2 separate regions of the Homo sapiens genome follow, and region 2 is linked to region 1. The links are contacts of gene promoters, found by promoter capture Hi-C in human tissues and cell types (Jung and others, 2019). All regions are on one chromosome and are shown on one strand. The core of a region is centred on a gene start or on the middle of the fragment in contact, and the rest is flanking DNA. Distances in the headings are between cores, read along the strand shown. Region 1 holds the start of NEUROD1 (neuronal differentiation 1). Region 2 overlaps CERKL (CERK like autophagy regulator).

Region 1 (5,765 bases), core at 1,779-4,278:
ATCAGATAATTAATACGATCTGAATACAGCCACACCAAATTCGTGGTGTATTTTTTAAACTTTACTGTATTTTTTTATTTTTTAAATAGAAGAGCTATAGAAAATAATACATAAGGTGAACAGGAACTTTGATCCCCTGTTTCTTCCAAAGGCAGTAATGACAATAAATACATATATCACTTGAAGCTTGGAGTATTTGCACTTTGCAGCAGTAGTACCCAAAGGGCTGCCTTTTGTAAACACGACAGTCACTGTAAGCACAGTGGGTTCGTTTCCCGGAAATGGTGAAACTGGCGTGCCTCTAATCATGAAATATGGCATTGAGCTGGGCACTCATGACTCGCTCATGATGTGAATGGCTATCGAAGGACATAATATTGTCTATGGGGATCTCGCAGCGAGGGGCAGCGGTGCCTGAGAAGATTGATCCGTGGCTTTGGGCCCCTGCCAGTGTCGCTGCAGGATAGTGCATGGTAAAGGCATAATTTTTCTCAAACTCGGCGGACGGTTCGTGTTTGAAAGAGAAGTTGCCATTGATGCTGAGCGGCGGGCTGAGGGGTCCATCAAAGGAAGGGCTGGTGCAATCAGTCAGAGGGCTTTCAAAGAAGGGCTCCAGCGCTGCGCTGTAGGCGTGCGGCGGAGGCTTAACGTGGAAGACATGGGAGCTGTCCATGGTACCGTAAGGCGGACTGGGCAGCCCAGGCGACTGGTAGGAGTAGGGGTGTACAGGGAAGGAAGCGCTGGCCGTCGGCAGGTGGGGGGGCATGTCCTGGTTCTGCTCAGGCAGAAAAGTCCGAGGATTGAGTTGCAGGCAGCCCGCAACCAGGTTGGTGGTGGGTTGGGATAAGCCCTTGCAAAGCGTCTGAACGAAGGAGACCAGGTCTGGGCTTTTGCCTGAGCGCAGGATCTCCGACAGAGCCCAGATGTAGTTCTTGGCCAAGCGCAGAGTCTCGATTTTGGACAGCTTCTGCGTCTTAGAATAGCAAGGCACCACCTTGCGCAGGTTGTCTAGCGCCGCGTTCAGTCCGTGCATGCGGTTCCGCTCCCGGGCGTTAGCCTTCATGCGTCTCAATTTAAAACGCTCCAGGCGAGCCTTAGTCATCTTCTTCTTTTTGGGGCCGCGTCTCTTGGGCTTTTGATCGTCATCCTCCTCTTCCTCTTCTTCCTCCTCTTCCAGGTCCTCATCTTCGTCCTCCTCCTCTCCCCCGTTCCTCAGTGAGTCCTCCTCTGCGTTCATGGTTTCGAGGTCGTCCTCCTTCTTGTCTGCCTCGTGCTCCTCGTCCTGAGAACTGAGACACTCGTCTGTCCAGCTTGGAGGACCTTGGGGCTGAGGCTCGCCCATCAGCCCACTCTCGCTGTACGATTTGGTCATGTTTCGATTTCCTACATTCAACAAGGGAGAGGCAAACAGAAAGAAAAGCAGAAAAACGCTATATTCAAAAGCCAGATACGCCTTCAGCTTCCACTCCCTAAACCTGTACAAATGCTTGCGAAAAGTACCTGCCCATTACAAAATGAATGCCTCTGAGAAAAAGTTAAATGCAGTGTTTTATAATGGCGCGTGCGTGTGCCCCGCTAGTACGTAGGAGTGAGGACAGGACTGGGGGAGGGTAGTGAATATGTATATGTGTACACCACTCACGCATATGTGTTTGTATCCTAGTGATTAACTTAAATGTGTTTATGGTGGTTGCCCGACAGGATAATGTGTGTGGAAATGACTGTACATTTCAGCGACTTCATGTTTATCCAAATGTGTTCAAAGTTACTCACAACTCCATAAAAAAAAAAAAAAGCTGTAAAATCACACATTCTACTTCCATTTCTGTCCTGGCTTCCAGATACTTAGCGATTTAAGTTGAACAGCCATTGCGTAATTTACTAATACTGGCAGCGATTTTTAAGAAGATTACATCGACGGGATACTGAAAAGCAAATGCAGAAAGGAGGAAAAATAGTTTCCACCAAATTGTTTCACCATCAATGTAACATTTGGCAACAAAAGTGGACAGGGTCTTCCACCCCTCCCTCGCCTTTCTTTTCTTGCCTTCCATCTCTGGCCCACCGCTAAATTTCCACCTTGTACAAAAGCGCTAGCTGCAGGGCGAGGGCTGGGGGCGCGGCGCAGAGCGCTCTCCCACGCGCCGGGGATCAGGTGCGGAAGGCTCCTCTCTAATAAACAGCCCATTGAAAGGGCCGCCCGCTCTTTATTGGGGCTTTTCAAAGTTCGCCTCAAACCTCCCTTTAAAAGATTGAGTAATTATAATGGTCAGCGATTGGCAACCGCGAAGTTGCCGCTTCTAGTAAGGAAAATAAAAAGCCTTTAGTAAAACAACTGAATTTCTGGCTCCAGTAGTGGCTGCTGGGGACTTGGCCGCCTCTGGAGCGGTAACAGGTAGCAGGAGTGAGTCCCTCTCCCTTTCTCCACTTTCCCCCCTCTCAACTAAACTATCTCTGAACCTGATTTATTTTCCATGGTGTGAATACTCAAGGTATCCATGTCCCTTTCATTCACTGAAAACACAGCTTGACACTCCCAATGTGCGTAAAATACATGCACACAAAATATATATTGATAACATAGATTTTTTTTTCTTACTGTAAGAAGTGAGAAAGTGAAGTCATTATTGCTTTTGGGACTTTAAAATCAGCACTAGCAGATAATCATAGTTACCGTGCATTCTTTTAAAAAATCCAAGAAGCTCCTATGCTATCCACAAAAGAAACCCAAATTTTTAAAATTTAAATTAGAAAGCCTGCAGGGGGTACTTGAGTGACACGACTCATTATGTGTGAGTACTTATGGGCAATTATGGAGGGGGATGCTGGTCTCAATACACATACACACTCTCGCAAACGCACACATACAGAATATGTAGGTTCATCAGTCTTCAGTTATTGCTTCTATTCTGGGGCAAAAAAATGAAAGAACTGTAATTACCTTTGTTGTTAGTAGGTCCTGAGCAGTGATAGTCTCATAACCCTGGGGCCTCCGGACGCCGCGCCTCCTGCGTGGGCGAATTCCTCGTGTCGTGGCCGCGCGGGCGCTCAGGTTATATAGCCCAGTTAGTGATGCTAAGCGCGGGCGGGGCCGCTAGCTGAGGGGCTAGCAGGTCTATGCGCCTGACGCCTGCGCACGCGTCCAGGCTGTGCGCTCCCCGTTCTCCCCTCCTCCCCACTTCTCCCCACGCCTTGCTCGTCTCCCGCCCTCCTCCGACAACCGCTCCCCTCACCCTCCACCCCTACCCCCGCCCCTCCTCCTTCCTCCCCGGCATGCGCCATATGGTCTTCCCGGTCCAGCCAAGAGCCTGGAACCACGTGACCTGCCCATTTGTATGCCGCGGAGCGCTCCATTCCGGCCCCTTTGTGGCCAGAAGAAAGTGGCCCATCTGTCGCCAGTTAGAGACTCCGCGGACCTGTTTTTACCCGCAGGAGAGATTAACCCTTTCAGGCGGCAGAAGGGACGGGGATAGAGGGGGGAGGGGATTTGAGGGAAGGAAGGGAAAAGCTAATGTTAACTAGGTCTAGATCAGAGCGAGTGGCCTGCTTTCGCGCCGGAAGTAGGACAGAGGTGAAAGAGGCAGAAGCGGGGAGACTGAGGCACGCAGTGAAGAGTCCTCGCTCCTTTCGATTTCTTGTCCTGACACTGGCATCCAGAGCAGCATGACTCCTTGCCCTCTCTGAAAGGCCCATCCCTTGGCTTCTTCTCCTTGGCAGACGCTTTGATCATTGGCGCCAAAGGATGGCTTCTCCTAATCTCCGTCGGCCCCTCTAAGCAAACATATACGCCATATAAAAGCGGCTTCATCTGTAAACGCAGCGTTGAGATTAGTTCCCCAACCTCCCTAACCGGATCGTCCTCTCCCAGTTCCTTCAGTACAGAAAAGTTGTACCTGCCATTCTATCCCTACCATACGTGCAATTCTTCATGTCCTGACCTTCAGCTACGACTGTTCCTCCAGACCCTCTCACTACGTCAGTCCCCACCTCCATCCCCAGGATCTTGTCCTCAAAGCGAGCTAGTTCTCGCGAGGAGGCCTTGGTTCCATTGGCCTTTGCGCTCTCTTATGTGGGAGCTGGGGACTTCTTTGACGGTTGTATTCTGCCTTTTAACCATGGCCACTGGGTTGCTGGAAAGGGCACCCTCACTCAGCCAGTCCAGGGACGCTTCTGGTTCCCTGGCCAGCCCGCCCTGGACGGCCTCGGCTCTCTAGTCCAGGCATTGACCACAAGTACGGTGGTGGACACCTCGCCACAGCCGGACCTGCGCTCTTGCTCCCCTCAGTCTCGGGTCTGTATAAGATACTTGATTCAGACAAGCGTTTTCAAAGAGAAGATGCAATGGGCCTGTGCTGAACGGGTCTTTCCGATCTCTTTCTAGAAACGCCTTTAGCACAACCCCGGAAGGATTAATGGCTGCGAACTCCTCCAGACTTCAAAGCCTCTGATTTGAAACTCCCAACTTGAAGGTCAAGCAAAGACCACAGAAATTCTCGACCAGTTCTGAAGGAGCCATATTGTTGCCCAAATAGCAATTCTTTACTCTTTTCGAACAAGGGTTTTCCAGAATAATAGATTTTAAAAAGAAAGAAAGAAACTGGCCTGTCTACTCGTTCTTTCCCAGCTTTGCCTCTAATCCTTCATTAACTAACTCCTTACCCCCTCCCAGACCTGAAACCCTCTGCAATAAATACCTCTTACGTGAATTGCTTATTTAAAGGCAATTGCACTAAACATCCCTCGAGTTTGCAAACAGCGACAGGGTTGAGAGGCTGGATTGGGGTGCATCTGGGAGAGGGTGGGGACGGGAGGAGAGAGTAGGGGTAGAGGAAGAGGGTCCTAGCCAGATCCCCGGTGTCTGAAGGTAGCAGGTGCAGCCTTCCCTGCACAGTACTAATCTAAAAGGGGAAGAAAAGAGTTGTGCCACCGAAGCGTGGCGTGAATCGTTGTGGGGTTCTGGAGTTTTGCTTGCTTTTCTACATTCACTTGGCTGACAAAGCGCATAGGGGAGGATAAAATAATTCACCCAGGAGCCTGGGCCCAGGATTTACCCCTGTACTGTCTGTATCTTCAGTGTTGGGCTAAAACTCGAGGGCGTCGGAGTACTAGCCCTTAGAAGATAGTACACAGCCCGACGTTTGCGGCAGGGCCAGGTTAAGTACTGCCCCTCACCCGGCAGCTGCCCCGACTGGCAGCACACTATGCCGCAGGCATATGCAACTCGTGCCTAGGCTCTCATTTTTCCAACTTTGGGGAGTTCCGGAGGAGAACTGGGGACGGAGTGGGAGAAAGGACTCCAGCTAGCTTCGAGGTCAGGGGTAGCCTAGAGGTCCCTCTGCTAAATCCTTGTCCTCACCCCCAGAAAGCAGAAACCTCCAGTTCGCGACATCCTGTGCAATACAGGAGAATTATGGTGGAGTCAGATGTTCTTGAGCAAGAGGGACGCCCGAGTGTTTTGCCAGACGGAGACTCAAATGCGTAAAGTGCGGGAATTACTAGTCTGTTTCCTCCCTCTACCCTTGATAAATTCATCTCTAATCCCACTGCGCGTTGTTCGCTCAGGCCTGGAGATTTGTACAAAGGAAAGGCCACTCCAGGATGTTTCAGAGACAGGGCTGAGGTTGGGTCTCACGGTAGCTGTCCTTGGGCTTCCCATCCCGCAGCGCTCCGATGTGACCCTCCTCTGCGCGGAAAATTTCGACCCGGGGCGCCGGCATCGCGACGCTCAGCCAGTGCCCGCGAGGCTCCCAGGAGATGCGGGGTAG
Region 2 (5,765 bases), core at 3,172-5,671, 41 kb before region 1:
TTTCCTAATTGTTGGGACTCATATTATTCTCTAAGAAGGTCAAATTTGAAAAGGCACTTAGAATTTCAATGCACATATTTTCCATGCAGAAGAACTGGATGTAAGATGAGTCTGGCATGTACCTACAAAGGTCTTCAAGTGCCAAGAACATTTCATAAAAATAAAGCTCACCCATGAGATATTTCCAGAGTAGGTTTGATCCCAATGAAAAACATTAAAATAACCTGTAAAATGACAGGTGTGTTATTAGTTCAGAAGCTAGGGTACCAAGACATATTGTTTTTTCCTCAAATATGAAAAATGCTAAATTTAAAAAATAAAAATAACTTTTAGAGAAATTTATTTCTACTTTTTAAAAAACATAAATCACATGACAAAAATGTATCCATGTTATTTATTTTACTGTGTCTAAATATCTAGATAAATGGGTGAGGAATGGAAATTTTAAAATGTATTATGTTCACCAAGATTTCAACTGTAATAAGTTTTTATCTGTATGATGAAAACCACAACAAAACATACTGTCATCCCTTTACACCTTCAAAACATGAAAACATACTTAAAATATAAGGAAACCAATACATGCTAACAGCTGCTCAATTGTATTGATCTTATTTTTCCTGCACAGATGGACACTAAACAGTGCTTTGAATTATGTTTGTAACATTTAGTAAACTTAAAAGCTTAATTTGGGGTAAATATTAATTACTTGTATTAGACAAAATAATACCAACATGGATATTTTAAGAAGTAAATGAAGAACTTTTAAGCTTAAAATGGTATGAACAGCTATTTTCCACAGATAAAAACTGACATCTTTACAAATGACTATTTCACTGACTTTTTACACTCCAATAATGCAGAAATATTATGAATGTATAAAGATTACATTATTTACTAACATCTAATGAATAATGTTTTCTGAAAATAGAGCGCTTTAAACTATGATTATTTTTAAGTAGCCTCTACTCTAATAAGAAACAGGATACACAAGGAAAGAGCCTAGGGCTCATAGGAAATACAGATCTTAGGCTTAAAAGGGTTCAACTTACAGTCCTTCAGGAGCAATTTCTCCAGTTTGTGTACTTTTCAAGCTACTTCCCTTCTGTTTACATATTTTGCTAGTCACTAGCACATTTGATGCTAAGATTTGGTAGAATATATTTCAAATAAGATGCTTCTCATTCTGCTGATTTAAAAACGAATTTGCGCAGCGTCTACTATCTATCCCACTGCCCAAGCTAGAAATCTCACCATCACCATTATTTATTTCCCTTTTAAGCCTCACATCCCCCAAATTTTGTCTTTGACAATATCCCTTGCATCCAGGCTTACCTTGCCATTCTCCCAGCTTTGCAGCCACTGCCCCCTGATCTGCTGGATCAGCCATCACACTGGGCTCCTCAGTGTGGAGCCCATTTATAATCTATCCTGCTACCTAATTTACCAAAAAAAAAAACAGAAATACTTGATCTCACCTAATGCCCAGCCTTTGTCACACCTTCCTCAATTTTCAGGTTGAGACGCCAACTTCCTTGCATGCTATTCAAAGTCCTGTATAAACTACTGACTAAAAACAAAGCACTGTCATCTCCCCCATAAATAAGACAATGTTATTTTCCAAATAGGCCAAAGCATCCTTTTCTGGAGATTTTTCAAAATTTTCTTTTTCTAGAATGGTTTCCTTGCTCCTTTGTCTGTCTTGCTAACTCCAAATCATACTTCAAGGCCCACATTAAAGTTTACCCTCGAACCTCTCTGTAGCTTTTCCTGACTTCCCCCTCAGCCCGCCCAACAGAGAATGATTTTCTCCTTTACCTATTTTTCCATGTGCATTTATAATGCTCTGTAAGTACTAAGTTGCACACAAAATAGATCATGTAGTTATTCTTTTGTCAATATATCTTCCTGAAGATTGTGAATATCTGAAGACAGAAATCATGTCAAATTGATTACAGAATCCTGGAACCTTCTAGAGACCCCATAATTGGTGCTCCCTAAATGTTAGGAGGACTACAGTAAAAACATGAATGATTTAACAAGAAAAATGCAAATTTAAACTATGCTGAGATATCATTTATTATGTATCAGGCTGTTTTTTTAAAGTTTGGCAATAAACTCTTCTGGAGAAATTTTCAGGAAATACATGCCCTTATACAATAATGATTTTAAAAAGCAAAATTGCACAACCCTTTTGAAAGAATTTGGTAATATTGAGCAAAATTATTAACACATTTATTCTTTGACTCAACAATCTCACTTCTAGGCATCTATCCTAAAAGCACATTGAAAAACAAAAAACGGAAAGTAAAGTTTTTTATTAAACCACTATTTGCGATAACAAAAATGACTAGAAACAATCCAAATTTCTCCAACAGAGAGGTCAATAAACGATAGTACATAATGGATTTTGATGCTGATGTAAAGCGCTACAGAGTGAACTTCTGGGCATATTGCTAAGTAAGAAAGAAATCAAGGTAGAAAAACACATATATTGTACATGTGTTTAAGACGGTGGGTACTGTGGGGGTAATGAAAAGAATATATGCACATGTTTATTTATATAAAATAAAAGAACAACCCAGAGCTTTGAGGAACAAATAAGCTTTCCTACCTACAGGAAGGAAGGAAAAGCATAGAAGGGAAACATAAAAGCTATACTTCCTAGAATATAGTTTGTTTAGTAGATTTGATTTTGGAACCATATAAGTATTTCACGTAATTATAAAATTGATTTTTAAAAAAGAAATGCCTAAACATCAAAAGCAAAATGAAACAATAATACAAAAAACAAATAAGTTGGGGGTATAACTTCACAGATATGAATTATTCCAAGTGTCTTTAAAACATAGTAATTTGACTACACCTCCCTAGTAGTGTACACTCTATGAACAAAAAAAAAAATTGCAGGACTATCTTAAGTGGGTTTCAGTAATTATACTTTTGATTGGCAGCATTGGTGTTGTTACTCTATTGTGTCTACATAATGCAGGATAAAGCAAATGAGTAATGATGTTGTTATAGTTAGGAATCAGGACTTTAAGGGTAGGAGAAAAGAGACAATGTGAAAAGCTTAGGCCTGCACTTGAATTGGAAGTATCAGCATAATCCTATGATACATTTTTTCTTTAAAAACAAAACAAAAAAACCCAACATATTTTCTAGCTCTGTTCTTTGAAAAACCTAAGTAACAAGGTACACATAGGGGAAGTTTTAGCAATGATGTTGCTTAGTTCTCAAATTGAGGTCTCTAATACCACTATCCAGTAAAAGGAACCAGGACCCTCTGATGATGAGCTTGATTCCATATCTCAAGCATGAAATGTTCAAGATGAACCTGGAATATCTTGCCATTCCAGAAAGCAGGGAAGCTATCAGACAGCTGAGTGAATGTCAAAAGAACTCAGAAGTCAAGATGAAGGGGCTCCCATTGGTCTAAAAATCCAAAATGTGACAATTTGAAGATCAGTAAAAATAATCATTGCTGTGAATTGAAAAACATTTAATAGGTTTAAATCCTTGAGTTTATAGTGATCATAACAATAAAAAAACCTCATTGGTCATGGTGGATGCTAGGATCCATCTTTGAGGATGAACTTGCCATGCCATCCCAATGAGTGTAGTCATTATAATGGCCACCAGGGATTCGTACCCTCAAGCTCCACCTCAACTTCAGAGGAGTTGAGGTCCTACATTTCCAAGGCAGCCCACAGCCTGTGACAGCACAGCTGAAGTTTGGCCACTTTTGCCCAAGGCAGGACTCCTAATGGGCAATCTTTTTCCCAAGTCCTCACCCTAGGTAAGCAAAAATCTTGTGACATCTGATCATGGTCTGAGGCTCTCCCTTCCCCAACCTGCCTCATCCCCTTTACGGGTATCAGAGTGATGGCCATCCCAGTCTGAAGGTTATTCTTGCCCATGAGAAACTATAGGCCAAACTAGTTTGTTCAAAACATAAATTGAAAGGAAAAAAAAGGAAGAAGAATCTGTGGATGAGAAAATTTAAAAGGCATAGCCATCAGCTATAATATGGACCTCATTTCAAGGTTGACATATTTAAAAAATAGAGAAAATATCAGGAAAATCTGGACACTAACTGGATATGTAAAACTATAAAGATTATTTTAAATTTGAAGAGTAGTAATATGATTTTTTAGAAAATCTTTATCTCCTAGAGATACATGCTGAGATGCTTACAGATGAAATTATATGATGCCTAGGAATTACTTCAATCATTCCAGGGGAAGAAGGGATGTGGGTAGAGTATAGATGAAATAAGACTGGCCATAAATTGAAAACTGTTTAAACTCAGTAATGGGTCACATAGAGCTTCACCCCTCTTAGGGTTGAACATGAGGACTTATTACATAATTATTCCTACATTTGGGTATGTTTGGTGGTTTCCATAAAAAAAATTAGATTTAAAAAAACTTGTTAAAAACTCCAATTTATCACTCCCATTTTCTTCATTTGTTCAGAAACTGGAAGTGGCCAGAGAAATGGAATAAGCTGTTGATGATGGAACTGTCTTAAAAGCCTGAAAGAAGTCAGATAATGTTGTTTCAAAGGTTTTTATTATTTTGGTTCAGACCATGATGCTTTACTACCACCAACTCAGATGTCAGATAGACTCTTGCTTGCTTAACTGGGGAAGCAACATAACCAAATGGGGACAGTGCAGGCTCTGGAGTCAGACTGCCTAGCTTTGAACCCCAGCAACTGAAATTACTGGTATGACCTTGGGCAAGTTATTTAACACCTCTGGGCCCTAGGGATAAAAATTCTATCTAGACTACATAGTTTCTTTGCTAAGGTTAAACAAGATAAGATACTTAGCACAGAACCTGGCAGAGTAAACAAATCTAAGTGTTCACTATTTTCAGTCAAGCACTGGGCACTGCTGTGTAGCAGCAGTGGTAGTTTCCAGAACACTGTTTCTAATGAAAATCTAGGAATGTACATGGGAATTCCCTGATGCCAGCTGGTACATTATTTTAGACTTACCCTTAGGCTTAACATAAGTTCATAACACCATGCCAATGACAAAAACAAAAACGCTCACCAATGGTAACTATTTTTGGTGCCTATACCTTCCTGATTGCCTGTCTACCTCTGAATTCAGTCACCCATTACACTAAGTTTCCTCATATTCTGGTTTGCATGCCAAAAGTTTGCAAATGGTTTAATGTCCTTCAACTTCATGCCTCTCTCTCCTTTGTGTTTCTCCTCCTAGCTTATACCAATTTTGGCCAACACAAGAGCATTTAGAGTCATGGCTGAGAGTTCCTTCCTGTTGCTCACCACACCCACGTACACATGTAGACACACACAATCAAAACTCACCTGCTCAGCATATACTACCCCCGTCATTGGCATAGTGCTTCTAAAACTTGGGTAGGAATACGGTCAGAAGTCTGTGTTTAGGATTTTAATGATGCTTGTAGACTTGTCAATGTCTGAAATGTAATCTAATAACCCAATCAAGTGGCAGGCTAGGTGGGATAACAAGTGATATGGTTATGATCAGTATTCTAGTGCTGAGATTACACAACTGCAATGAATTTATCTACTACATCCCTGACCATTTCAACAAGGACGGTCCATTTTCTCAAATTACAGAGGGTACAAAAACATCCAGTCTAGGCAATAGCATCTTCCTGCATACCCAATTGCTCTGTTCTCTATATCCATTGCCCTGGTTCTCTATTCCTTTAGCTTTGCCATGTTTGGATTTCTGCAATTCACTTCAGAACTTCCTACTTTGG

The links. Contacts are between HindIII fragments. The study calls those that stand out against the background at their distance.
Region 2: a contact is called between a fragment that was not itself captured here and the fragment with the promoter of NEUROD1 in region 1, in 1 of the 25 tissues and cell types used here (mesendoderm cells).

What each region holds. Positions count from the first base shown.
Region 1 is chr2:181,677,489-181,683,253 of GRCh38, forward strand. It overlaps NEUROD1 (neuronal differentiation 1), which reads right to left and starts at 3,029. Exons shown (of 2, transcript NM_002500.5): 1 at 2,942-3,029; 2 at 1-1,383. The coding sequence starts at 1,372. The coding sequence ends at 302. RefSeq lists an enhancer at 3,679-4,255. The HindIII fragment of the contact is 10,799 bases long and covers 1-5,765 here.
Region 2 is chr2:181,635,020-181,640,784 of GRCh38, forward strand. The region is part of intron 1 of CERKL (CERK like autophagy regulator); the gene reads right to left. Among named protein-coding and RNA genes, the nearest start is that of CERKL, 19 kb to the right of the region's middle. The HindIII fragment of the contact is 3,167 bases long and covers 2,839-5,765 here.